2 separate regions of the Homo sapiens genome follow, and region 2 is linked to region 1. The links are contacts of gene promoters, found by promoter capture Hi-C in human tissues and cell types (Jung and others, 2019). All regions are on one chromosome and are shown on one strand. The core of a region is centred on a gene start or on the middle of the fragment in contact, and the rest is flanking DNA. Distances in the headings are between cores, read along the strand shown.

Region 1 (2,700 bases), core at 77-2,576:
GTACGGAAATTTGTTTCTTGAGGATACAAAAAAGAAAGGTGTCAGGGGGAAAGTAAAAATTCAACTCCTAAAACATCGCGTGTAGAGTCAGGCAGTCACTTCATAAAGAGTTCAGTCGATGAAGTTTCACTCTTGAAACTTTACTGTATGTATGCAAGCCCTAACTATTAATACAGGTGACAGCATCCACCTTATCTTCCATTCTCCCTAAGCCCTGAGGGTGGGGATGGGGGGGGGGGCACTCCAATCACCTGAGCCTAAGAACATAGCCTAAGAACATGTGTCTGGCATGGTCTGGTTATTTATAGCCTAAAAAAAAAAAAAGCCAGCTTCTTGTCCGATTCAGGCTTTCCCTGCCCAAACCCACTAGCTTAATGCGATATTGACATTACCAGGAAATGCATACGTCCCAAATGCATCTGCTTATAGATGTTTTTACCTCCTGAAATAATACCGGGTCACAAATACTGTTGTGTTTTTTGCAGAGAGCTTCTACTGCTCATTTAATTCAGGGGCGTTGGATTTGTGCTGAGCGTAATTTGACTCCAAGCATGCAAACTGATCAACTTCTTCCCGTGTGTTTGGGGAGTACAAGTGACTACTGCGACTCCTCAAATGTTTTTCTTTTCCTTTTCACGTGGAGGAAAGCGAATTCTCCGAAGACTGTTCGGCGTTCTACGCAGGGGTTGGAAGGGGGGTTCCTGAGTCACCTCTGGCTGCGCGGGGGGCCTGTGTGTACCCTCAGGGACACCAGGCTGGAATCGTCCACCTTACTTTCAAATGATAAAAGTGCGGAGGGTCTTTCTGCCCCTAAGTCGCGTACAGGATTGCCTGTTTACGGAGTACACTTTCACACACTTCTTTCCCGGTGGTGCAGTCTCGTGGCGGCAGAGCCTTTAGGAAGGCTCTGGGGGGAGACAAGATCAGTGGCGACCACGCCTCCCATGTTACAGCGCTCGCTTCCTACTGGGGGTTGGCGGGGACACCAAGGCTCTCCAGCCCGGGAACACGGAGTTCGGCTCCGTTGTACCCAACTGGAAAGCTGTGGAAACACAAAACTCGGGCGGCGACAGCACCAGCCGATTTTCCGCTCTCTTGGCTCTTTCTTCCGCTTGCACCGCCCCCACCCCGGCTCCTCCGCTCAGCACACAGGAACCCACATCCCCCACCACTCCCGCGTTTCTCTCCTGCCACCAGCTGGGGCCTGCCTTTTATAGGCGCCGCAGCCAATGAGCACGCTTCTTTCCTTCTGCCCGCCCGCCTGGCCAATCGCCGCGCCCCTTGTGTAATCTCCGGCTAGTCGGCTGCTTTCGGCTATTTTCGCTGTTGCTGGCTTTTTCAGGAGCTGCTCGCTCGCAGCCAGAGACGCTGCTTTTTTTTTCCGGGTTCGGAGCCGTTCCGGATGCTTTAGGCTGCCGGATGTCTGATCTCCGAATAACTGAGGCGTTTCTGTACATGGATTATCTGGTAGGTGCAGGGCAGGGGTGGCATGTCGCCTCTCGGATCTCGGCGTGCCCGATGGCCCCCTGCCTTGAGGAGCAGCCTTTTTGCTTTCTTTCTTTGGGATAGGATGCCTCTGGGGTTCTTTCTCCCGCAGCCGGCTGGTAAGCCTTTCCCTGGACTCGGAGGGGCAGCCTCCAGGGCGGGTGGGTGGTGGAGCTGACAGGTAAAGGTGCGGCCTGGGCCAGCACGGCTGCAGGGCGAGGGTCGCGCTGGGGCTGCTTGAGAGATGGGGCGGCCGCGGCGGCGCGTCCCCTGCCCGCGATCGGCTTCCTGGCTTCCCTCTGCGCTCTCCGCAGAGGACTTTCTTTCCGGGGGAGCAGGAGTTTTCCTCTCTCCCTGGAGCAGAACTCCAGGTGCTATTAAAGAGCCATAACCAGAATGGCTCACTAAGTGCCCAGCAGCCCTGGTCATTTGATTGTTATTAAATCTCTAAAGCTATGACCTCGGTCGTGGCGGGGTTTTAAAAGCACATTACCATAAAGCAGACGGGTCTAAACTACCTCGCAGGCTGGCACGAACAGGACTGAGTAGGGACAGGTATAGCCCCACCATTCCGGTCTTGGGTGCGTGCCGCGGTTCCACTGTGCACGGATTGGAACCCGGCTGTTTAGGCCAGGCTTGTGCTGAGAAGTTTAGGTGGGAAAAGTGTCAGCACAGTGCTGGGACCGAACATCATTTTAAAAATGGACTTCTATGTGTCTTTGTGGAATTATGCGAGCACCATGTTTTGTTCCAGAAATTATATTTCCCCAGAGTTGCTTGTTTGCGTTTAAGGGGATCCTCATTTACAGAGACTTGTGTTCGATCCTATACGATTATTGTGTTTACCATGTTGGGCAGAACCGCTATTGCCATGCAGAGTTGAAGTAGACGGTTAGAAACATTGACCCTCCTGTCATCTTGTTGGACACATGCACTCGGTTTTCGACTGCAGATTGGCCTGGCAGAGATTTGCCAGTGCCTTCTAGGAATTACACTTAAGGCTGTACTGAGAAAGTCTGTGCATGCTTTGATGGCCAAGAAACGCCGGACCGGCTTTGTGCTGTTATCTGTGTATTTGGGCTTATTTTAGTGTACATAAAGAAAATGTTTCTCCTAATGCTTCAGAGCTTGATGGTCTTGTGGGAAAGGATGGTGACTGCAGTTAATGCATAGCCTTGTGAATGGAGCTGGATCTAAAATTCTGAATTCAAGTTC
Region 2 (2,700 bases), core at 64-2,563, 850 kb after region 1:
TTTAAACAAAACAAAAAAAGAAAACCTTTTTTTTCCTCCTGTGTAAAAAGGTAATACGTGTCACTGCAGAATATTTGGAAAATATAATAAAAGAGAAAATTGAAATCATGTGTTTTCTTACCACCCAGAGATAGCCATGATTAATGTTTTGGTGCATATCCATCCAGAGTTTTTTTTTTAAATCTAAGGAGATCACCAATACCAGTCCAACAGGGCAAGCAGCGTCTTACCAGCAGAGATCATGGTATTCTGGAAAATGTAGGAGTTAAAAACACTTTTCACTTTTCAGGATTCCTGCCAACATTCAGGGTCTAGCTTTGAGAAGGAAGGCAGGTAGGAAGTAGACAAAGGTTCAGGGTTCTCAGCCTGCAGATTGAGTTTCAGGAAGGGTTCCAGATCAGGTTGTCAATGAAGATATAGGTGACAGGACGGAAGGTTCCTGGGTCTGGGGAAAGTTACCTGTTGCCAAGCTCTGTAAGAATACAGAGTGGGGTGATGGCTACTGTGTGCTTCCTTTTCCTGTTCGGACTATCTCAGGAAAGGAAGTAGACTTGGTTTCTGCAGATCGAGTGCTACAGAGGCTCCAACCTTGGGTTCTGAGGAAGAGAAAGGCAGGGAACCAAGACAAAGACTAACAATGTGCAGCTTGAAAGTGAGGTCAATTTATTTTCAACTATATTACACATGTTTTGGAAAAAAAAAAAAATCTTTACAAATACGTTTTAACATAGTGATTTTTTTTTCAGCCTGAGCTACTAGCAAATGTAACTAAATGTTTAAAGAAGCACTATAGAGTTGGGATCACTGAGTATATCATGTTAATGACTGTTCTTAATGGAAGGAGCAGAAAATTGTATTCTTATGAAAAGCAATTAGAGATATTTGAGAAATGTGTATTCTTGTTGCTCTTACAATAGCTCAACAGCTTTTTTTTTTTTTAAATAGCTTTCAGTCAAAGTGATGTTTTTCCCCAGAAAATTCTAATAAGATGCAAGCTACACATCGGTAGAGTGCCTGGTCCAGTTGTGGGTGTTCAATAAATATTAAACACCAGCAACAATCATTTAAATTTCCTATGTTATGTTTTCCCTAGAAAGGATCTCTTCAGCAGAGCTATGGATTAAGGATAGCCTAGGGCTGCAAGAAAGAGAGACATAGTAACTTTGCCCACAGCCCAATCCCACATATCAATGTGTCAGAACAAAAAGATCAGTATATGGCGGTAACTCCTGCAATCCTTCCCGCACACTGAGCTGCCTTTTCTTGCTATTGGCTCTTTATGAATAAAGAGTGGAATCAGCCTGCGATAAGCCAACTGAGAAGTACTGGCATTTTGAAAGGGATAACCTGTGAATATGGTCTTTGGTTTTACTTACATATTTACATCTCCCCAGGTCTAGCTGCAACTTGAGAAGTTGGAAATAAGGAGATAAGTATTCTTTGGCTCAAATGAAGGGCAGAAGTCAGTCTCCCCTCTGATCTGCAGTCTGGATCTCGTATCTGTGAGTTGAATCTCTGTTGCATGAGGAACAAGTGCAGATTGTGCAACAGAGGGCCCCCTGTGTGCATCTGACAGGAGAAGTTTGTTCCGAGTGTCATAGTGTTGTTTTCATCTTGATAGACTAGCACAGTCTGGTGAAATGGTTGGGGGAGGGTGCCGGGGAAAAGAGAAATGCCCAGGTAGCTGAACAATGAAAGCTTGCATGTTACATGTCAGAAATGAAAGGGAGCTCAGTGAAACCACTGGTTAGCTGAGGCAACTGAGAAAGTGGAGTGGGGATTTCAGGAAGAATAACATTTGCAAAGACTGAAAATAATCAAGGGAATCAGAAGCATGTACTTGAAAAGTGATGGGAAATACAGTGGTATGTCCATTAACCACAGCACTATCACCATCAATCATCTTTAGTCTATGATGAGAATTCAAAACTCAAGAGAGACCTGTCTTGGCCTGTGTCTATACTTCATGTTGAAGTATTTATTTTTGTCCTTGGTGCTAGTAGATGCTGCTGCTGACAGCATTACTATTTATGTGTATGAATGGGGCTCAAAGCTGCCAGATTAATGACGCACAGTACAATCTCATCTAAGCACACATGTAGACAGGCTGTCACCATTGGTGGCTTTGCCTGTTCACCTCTGGGGTTGCATGAAATCTCAGTTAACAAAAAGGTCCTCTAGGTTTGAAATATGCAGCACAGATCTGTTGACTGCTTTGCTTTCCCAGGAGTCAGAGTATATGCCACATTACTAACTGTTCAGCTTCTACACATTCTTCCCACTCCTTTTAACTTGGCTCTGCCTCTAATCAAGCTCCTTTGGCCTGTGGTTGGCACAGCTGCTGTGGTTTAGTGCACATGTCCGGTGACAGAGATTCAATGAGCAGAACTTAAATGCTGATGGAGTGACTCTGGAACTGTGTTTTTGGAACCCTTGTGTTTCCACTCATGTCAGTTCTGGCACATGGGTGTTGATGTGGAGACTGCTGGGAATGTGGGTGGGGATCCAAGTTACTGTTGGTTGTCCTTTGAACAGGTGCTTACAGGGCACAGGTTTAGTTGACTGCCTGGTGTCATGTCTTAGTCCTTTTGGGGTGATTTCCACCAGAAGGGAGCTTCTTGAAACAAGTGTCCTATTTTTTTAGGCTGCCCAAGCATCTCTGAACAATAAGTTTCCTAGGTGGTGGAATTTGCATTTAGT

Evidence for each region. The method cuts DNA at HindIII sites, captures the fragments that hold promoters and counts their contacts. A contact is called where the count stands out against the background at its distance.
Region 2: a fragment that was not itself captured here is called in contact with the fragment with the promoter of ARL15 in region 1 in 1 of the 25 tissues and cell types used here (stomach).

The regions. Positions count from the first base shown.
Region 1 is chr5:54,309,199-54,311,898 of GRCh38, reverse strand. It overlaps ARL15 (ARF like GTPase 15), which reads left to right and starts at 1,326. Exons shown (of 5, transcript NM_019087.3): 1 at 1,326-1,467. The coding sequence starts at 1,420. The HindIII fragment of the contact is 9,246 bases long and covers 1-2,700 here.
Region 2 is chr5:53,463,744-53,466,443 of GRCh38, reverse strand. No RefSeq gene overlaps it. Among named protein-coding and RNA genes, the nearest start is that of FST, 16 kb to the left of the region's middle. The HindIII fragment of the contact is 4,049 bases long and covers 1-2,700 here.